Linked DNA regions of Homo sapiens: region 2 is linked to region 1. Evidence: promoter capture Hi-C in 16 types of primary human blood cells and fetal thymus (Javierre and others, 2016). All regions are on one chromosome and are shown on one strand. Each heading gives the region's core, a stretch centred on a gene start or on the middle of the fragment in contact. The rest is flanking DNA. Distances are from core to core; before and after follow the strand shown. Region 1 holds the start of ERICH3 (glutamate rich 3). Region 2 overlaps LOC105378797 (a long non-coding RNA gene).

Region 1 (4,162 bases), core at 1,475-3,974:
CGCAATGTTATCATGCAGCAAGAAAGCCCCCACCAGATGTGGCCTCTTAACATCAGACTTCACAGCCTCCAGAACTGTAAGAAATAAATTTCTTTGTAAATCACCTTATCTGTGGTATTCTGTTATAGCAACAGAAAACAAATAAGACTGTCACTGATAGTTTAGATCTGTGATTCCTAAGTCCAGCTGCTGTTCACCCTGAATGAAGATCCAATCAACACTGTAGGTGTAATCCTTATCTCCCCGCTGCCCTTCTACTTCTCTCAATCTCCTGACCCTGACTCTCACTCCACAGGTCTTTCTATAAAACTGAAATCTTTTTATAAATTTATGATACTTCTGGGGACATCTGGGGACTTTTTTTTTCCTATGAGAAAGTGAAAAGGACTCCAGTGACTATTTGGTCTTGAAACAGTTTAATTTAGTTTTTTTCTTTATTCCCTTTCCCTATCTCCATTCTAGAAATTAACATAGAAACTCATTCTGGCTAAATTCCCAATACATTTTCACAGTGAGCATTTTCTGAAGTGAAAATTAGTAGCTTCCTTGCAGTTTTCATCAGGAATGTGAAATTGTGGAGCTCACAGGGGTGGAGAACTCAAACCCCATTTATGAATTAATACATGCTGTTGAGGGTACCTCACTGTCTGCAGAGTGCTGGCGAATCTTTTCTACAGAATCCTGAGTATCTAAATAGTATATTTTAATTTCCCTTCTCATTGAACCAGTGAGAAAATACCATTTTCTATTTGCAAAAATGAATTTTGTAACAACTAGTATCTATATAAGATTACATTATTTACACCATCCTTAGGGATTGGCAGCACCTGGGGCAAGTTACAGTGTATCTTTCTAGTTCCTCCTCCTCCTTCCCCAGTCCCGATTTTTATCCAGGTGAAATCTAGTTACAGTGAGCATTAAGGGCAACCTCAAATGGAAACCAATGTTAGTGGGGATAGACATACGGTAGGGGACACGGGGAGATGACCTCTGCCTTAGTCTAGCTCTGGCCAGTTGGGCTCTGAAGCAGCCTTGAATCCTTCAGTCTCAGGACCTAAGCTATTGGGCTAGCATCATATTTTTTTTTTTTTCTTGGAATGGCTCTGGTCACTCAGGTCCAAAACCTGTAATGGTATAGAATATCTGGCTTCTCTGGCAATTTATAGGGGCCACGGAAAAGTAAATCAACTTGTAATTGTTAAAGGCATTTGTAGGCTGAAATCAGATAGATCTGGATTTGAATCCTAGTTTTTCCCATTGGAAGCCACTGTAGATGTCAGAAAAAATAACTAATTTCTTTATGTATTAGTTTTGATAGCTATGAAATGGAGAAAAAAACCTGTCTCATAAAATGAAGATGAGGATTAAATGAGATAGTAAATGCTCAATAAAAGGCTGAGGAGAGCATTTAGTAACAACTCGTTACAAATGCCACCACTCAAGAGTTTCCTTTTTTCCCTTCACTCATGCTGCAAACATTTATTAAACTGTTGCTTCCTTCTGAGAATATAGAAAAATGGAATAGATGTACAAAATGAAATGGAGGAGCTTGCATTTGAGTAGAAAAGGCAGCATCTACTTCAGCAAGTGTTATACAGGGGGTAAGCACAAAACAGGCATATCCCAGCCGAGTGGCCCCCTGAGGCCAGAGTCATTAGCACACCTGAGGATGTCAAAGAGGAAGTGTTTAAGCTAAGTGTTACAGGATGAATAGAAGTTTTCCAAGTAGTCAAGGGTGAAAGTATGTTTCCACTAGAGGGATAGCGCAAGAGTTTGGTTTTGCTAGAGTTTAAGGTAGTGGAGAAAGTGGTCACACAGGCTCGGGAAAGACACTGGGGCCAGGTGATGAGGGCCCCTGAATGTCACACTAAGGAGTTTGAACTCTGTCATACTCAGTGGGTCTTTACCACGTGAGGAAAAGCAGAATGACGTTAATGAGGTGATGCTCTTCCCACCTCTAAATGTGGCTGACCCAGAATAGAGACCCTAGAAAGCTCAGTCACCACTGATGCGTCCAACCCTTCACTTATACATGAGGAACCTGAGGCCAGAGATCAAGTCATTCTGCAAAACACCTGACCAAGCATGAACAAAACAAGAATAGGTTATCTAAGTCTAGTGCTTAAACTTCCTCCACATTCAGATCCTCCTTTAAATCCAGGCTGCTTCATCTAAGCCCTGCATTCCATGTACTGGATTCCAATGTAAGTACTGTTTCTGGGTGCTTTACTGAATAACTGCGTCTCCCCCATCTTCTGAAAGCCAGCTCTGTCAGCCCTGCCCACTGGAAGTGGGGACCTCAGCTAGGAAGAAGGATAGGGGTTTTCCAAGGAGAAAATGAGTCGATTGTAATGCCTTACAGATGCAGAAACAAATTCAAAACCCAAAACAGATTGAGAGACGTCCTTCTTTCCCTCAAATTTGCAATCGCTGTTTTAGCACTGGAAACCACCGCATCACGCAGTAGCTGCTCCCTGCTCTTATTACCCTCAGCCGCTACCCAGTCCTTCCTTCCCCAGGGCCTAGCAGGAAGCACGCCAGCCAAAATGTGTGGGTGTGCCTGTGTGTGTGCACGAGTGTGTTTGTGTTTTCATGTTACAGATACCTGGGGAACTCGCGCCCTAGAGCAACAGAGCAGGGGCTTGCTTGGGTCTCCTCCCTATCAGGGCCCAGAAAAAGGGGTAGAAGCTGGCTTCACTTCCAGCTTCCGCAGGCTCGGTTCCAGTAGCGCCTCCGCTTCTCCAGACCCTGGGCGCTTGCCTCTCTCCTCCCTTAGCAACAGGGAAGCTGTGGATACCAACGGAGGGTGGGAGCCCGGGAGGCTGCGGGTAGCCCGGGCGCCCAGGGGCGGCGGCGGCCCAGCCCAGGTGCCCGCGCACAGGGGACCTCGGTGCGGAGCCACCCCTCGAGCGCGACTGTCGCAGCGCCAGCGCGCACGGGGCCCCACGCACCCACCCTCCGCACCTGCCGCGGGGTCCAAAAGGGATCCTGCAAAAATGAGCCATTCTCACCCCGCTGGGTAAGTGACAACTGGAGCTTTTCCACGCTGTGGCAGGTGGCGGCTTCAGCCAGCTGCCCCTCCTCCTCCCTCCTGCTGCGGAGGGAAGGGGCGAGAGGGGAGCGAGGGGGAGGGCTGGGGAGAGGAAAATATATACGAATTCTGGGTTGCAGCGAGGATGGCAGAAATCCCAGGCATCATGTCTCCTCCCTCCCCTTCTTCGTTTCTTTCACCCACGTTCGCCCCTTTTGAAATTTTCACCCTGGAAGGATTAAAAAATGGAAGTGAAAAACGCATACATTAAGCAAGGACCTTCGCTGGGATCAAGAAGATCCTGTGGTGTGGAACATGTGTGTTTAGATGCAAAAGAAGAGGTTACCAAAATAAGAATTCGTTTGGAGATTTGAGAATGAGAGATGCATTCTCACCTTAGCTTACATATAAGCGAGGTGTGAGTTCATTCAGTATTGAAAGATGTTTCATTGGGAAAAGGGGGTATTATTTCAGGGATTTTTTTCTGCCCAATCTCAAAAGGACCATAAGGGTCTTTAAAAAGTATTTTAATAAAGGAAGGTTATATGGCACAGGAAAAGAGAGGGAGGAGTTGTGTGCCTGTGTATTTACTCATGATCTTCAGTTGCTTTAGGTAGGTGAACCCCTTAGATAACCTATTTTGGCAATTTTCAATGTATTCTAGAAAGAACACCGTCATTATTGGCTGTTGCAAAAAAAAAAAGTTTCTTTTTTTATTGGAAGGGAGAATATCCAATTTCCTCCTGAATTAAACAATGTAATGCATATTAGACGATTTTTTATTATGATACATCTAGTAAGAAGATAAATATCCTAGTCAATCTTGCAATTAAATTGAAGGCACTTTCCTTTTTAATTGCATTTATTGCACATTTTTAGGAGCAGCAAATTAGCAGAGGACAACATATTTGAGATCATTTGGAGTTTGTGATGTTTGAAGTACCACATTAGTCGTTGTGTTGGAACTTATACCCAAACTTCAAGATTTTACTTTTTAATGAATTCTCTGAGTGTAATGGCGTAAATGAAAATGTTTGAAAAAACTAAAGCCATATAAGGTGCCACGTTGGAAATCAGTTTCAGAACTTTTAGAAAAGTGATATAGCTATGATTACATAAACTTTTTGTTTT
Region 2 (3,823 bases), core at 535-3,034, 2.0 Mb after region 1:
GTAAAATGTTCAAAGAGTGTTACAACTTTTAATTTTCGATTTCACATGAGTTTGGACAATGGCTGGAAGAAAAAAATATATACAGTTCATTCAGTCTATAGTAAAGATAGAAAGGTTTAAAGGTTGAAACTTGAGGAACTAGCAAAAGATCTTGTGAACTTTAAAAATATATGTAGAATATTCCATAAAGTGATGAAACCGTTCTTGACAGGAATAGCACAAGCACTCGTCTCACAACTCCTGGATAAAGATTGAGCTATGTTCTTTAGGCAAGGAGTTGTAATATACATGGGAACATGTTTCAATAATGACTATCATGTATGAATTGGTACTGTTCATTCTAAATATTTATCATTAAACTTAAGCACTAAGCAAAGTCAGTCATTTTTAAGATTTTATTAACTACAGAATGAGGGTTTATATAAGATCCACTAGAATATAGACAAATGAAAATGTTTTACAATAGGTCAAAACGGAAGCAAAATTTCACCTTCCCATGTTAATCCAAGGTCAAGAATAGGTGAAAACATTAAACTTCACCTAACTTATAAATTCCCATTAAAATAATTCTCATTAAAAGTAAAAAGAAGTTGGTTTGACAGTTTTAATCATTAATAAATTAACCAAACACTTTAGTATCATGTTAATATATAGCAACAACTACTCAAATATTAATAGGTTTTGAGCTGACAACCTTGGAGTATTTCATTTTTGCTAATAATGGTAAATAGTATTTTTGTGCTATTGTAAAGAACTGGCAGGTAGGAATCATATCTTTGTACATATTAAAATATCAATAATTAGGTTTCTGTTTTTATTTAGTCACTACTTCATTTTAGTCCACTGAGCTGAAATTACTTGCATAGGGGTTACCGAGGTCTGACAGCTATGTTGGGGAGCACCTACAGTCAAGAAAAAGAACCTAATAGAACTTTCTTGTGAGGGCTGCCAATGAATTTTTTTCTGAGGATGATACGCTTTCTTTCTCTTTTCCTTTTTTTTTTTTGTTTTTGAGACCGAGTCTCATTCTGTTGCCAGCCTGGGCTGGAGTACAATGGCGCGATCTTGGCTCACTGCAATCTCTGCCTCCCGGGTTCAAGAGATTCTCCTGCCTCAGCCTCCAGAGTAGCTGGGATTACAGGTGTCTGCCACCATGTCCGGCTAATTTTTGTATTTTTAGTAGACACGAGGTTTCACCATGTTGGCCAGGCTGGTCTCGAACTCTGACCTCAGGTGATCCACCCGCCTTGGCTTCCCAAAGTGCTAGGATTACAGGTCTGAGCCATCGCGCCTGGCCAATACACTTTCTATATAATGTACTCTTTTCTCATTTTTTTTTTTTTTGCTGTGAGTACGCTGCACATTTTCTTTCACATAAAATGAATCACGCATTCATGAAAGCCAAAAACAGGTGCACCTTTCTATCCTACAGCTAACTTACAGTTTTTAATTACTTTGCAACCCTTGAACATATTCTTTTTTGGAAATATGTGACTGGATCTTTCTGACATTAACAACTGGCAGGAAAATAAATTCAGGTTTTTCTTTATTCCCTGTATTTGCCTATATTAAACAAGGAAATAAAGCAAGTAAAATAATGTGAAAAGCAGAAGCACACTCACAAAGATTTACCATATCTCTGATGGCTTATTACTTTATATTAAACCATAAAGACCTTAGGAAAATGTATTTTATGTGTCTTTTAGTGCAATCACATTCATTGCCAAAATTAATGCTCTTGCACCAGACTGCCTGGGTTCAAATCTTGCCTCTATTATTTATTATCTGTGTCTACTGGAGCAAATTACTTCCTTTCTTTGATCCTTTAGACTTCTGAGTTTATAACATGGGAATAATAATATCTATCTAGTAGAGTTTTGTGATGTGTACATGAATACAAAAATATTGTTAGATCTGTTTCTGATACATAGCATATTTTCAATAAATATGAACAACTATTATTATGTGACTTGGATCTCTCAAACAGATTGGAAGCTACTTTATGACAGTGGTAAGGAATATATCTATTACTAGTCTGGTACTCTTGGTATCTCCCAAAGACACTAAATATTTCATGACAACAATGGTATTGGCAACAGTAACGACATTGTTACTTGGTCATACATATATTAATAATAATCATCTTAAATATAAATAGAAGTGTTAGTCAAACTTTGAAGCCTTGAATGACATGATTAATGCATTTAGTTGGGGAAAATGAACAGTGAATGCACACAAAATGAAATGATAAGAAGTGAAAAAATAAGGAAACAGAAATGAGAAAGATATTTAAAAAGGGAAAGAAAGACCAATAGTAGAAAATGGCTGGTATTTTTCTCATTGATGCCTCCCCAGCTCAGAATAACCAAGAATAAATACAAATTATCCAGTCAGACACACAGGAATGAATTATAAATAGTACAGTGATATTCATCCTGAAATATCTGTTTCCTGAAAGAAGTAGTTGCATTTGACTCTTATTACATATAAGTTCATGACTTTGAAAAAAAGCTAACTGTTTTTCTATAGTTGTGTTTGTTGTGTTAACATTAATTTTTAAAAACCTTCTTAGGGAACAGTGGGTCAAATACTAAAGAAATTTGAAAGCTCTATCTTTAATTTGTCCCATTCATCTTTAAGTAATTTTAAGAAGTCTCAACCTAGTAATTTTTTGTTTGAATAAATCCATGGTGGAAATAGATGAACTGTTTTCATGCCTAAAGTATTCAATATCATTACCATTCAAAATATTTTTGAGCGCCTACCATATCAGAGCCATATTAGAAGTGAGAGTGGTATAAAGAGACATGATACAGTCCTATCAATAAGGGGATAATACAGATTGTACCTGGAATGTAATAAATAACACAGATCAGCAAATGCTAGGTATGAATGATAAAAACTGAACTTTTTATAAGAGTTCTACAAGCAGAGTAGAAGCAATACTGTTGTTACTGCTGAAAGTTTTCTTTAGAAAGGCTTTTCAACAAGTATATACCTTTCATCAAGTATATTTGTTTCTGTCACAACAGTATTACCAGTCTACAAATGGGAAGTGATGGAATCAAATGATTATGAGAAGTAAACTATAAATGTTTATGATTTCTGCTCTGCTCAGGTGATGAATCAGCACAGTAATATTTTCAGCCCTGAGTTTTAGCCCAGGTTTTGCAGCTAAGCTAAAGCAGTTTCCAATACAATTTTATAGCAATATAGAATTTCTTTCAAATAACAGTGACTATCCTCCAAAGTTAATCTAAAATGTTCAGCCAGTTTACCTCTTGTTGAGACAAAAGCAGTTGCATACACTTTTGAGGATATAGGCTTCAATACTGTTCCTTAATGAAAGTGAAATTATCCAGGAACATCTAACGTGATGTGACATGGTTGATATGAGTATATTTAGGAGACATATGAAGAAAACGAGGGGGTTACGATCTCTAGAAAGAAAGAAAATATGTGTCTCAAGCTATATATTTGCCATATAAAACAATCCCACACTTAGATTTCAAGCAAAATATTACACAATACCAGAGTAGGAAATACAAATGTTATAATGCTACCTTTATATTTTCTAAAATCCCAAATTGCTAAGAAAAACAATGAATACCAAAGATTTTGCAATAATCTTACAAATATAAGCAAATCATGGTCATCACCAGGAAATTAGATGCAATCAAACGATATGTCAATTGTGGTTCTTTTTTCTCATCATGACTTAGTCCTCAAATCAAATTTCATGAATAACTCGGGAGTCTGATTTAATACAATCATGAATTCTAACATTGAGGACATTAAAGTATGTCTGTTGTCTAGCCCGTGC

The links. Contacts are between HindIII fragments. The CHiCAGO score rates a contact against its expected background, and 5 or more counts as called.
Region 2: a contact is called between a fragment that was not itself captured here and the fragment with the promoter of ERICH3 in region 1, in 1 of 17 cell types (naive B cells). The highest score is 6.7, in naive B cells.

The regions. Positions count from the first base shown.
Region 1 is chr1:74,672,354-74,676,515 of GRCh38, reverse strand. It overlaps ERICH3 (glutamate rich 3), which reads left to right and starts at 2,724. Exons shown (of 15, transcript NM_001002912.5): 1 at 2,724-3,019. The coding sequence starts at 2,997. The HindIII fragment of the contact is 21,395 bases long and covers 1-4,162 here.
Region 2 is chr1:72,624,172-72,627,994 of GRCh38, reverse strand. The region is part of intron 3 of LOC105378797 (a long non-coding RNA gene); the gene reads right to left. Among named protein-coding and RNA genes, the nearest start is that of LINC02796, 140 kb to the left of the region's middle. The HindIII fragment of the contact is 4,282 bases long and covers 1-3,823 here.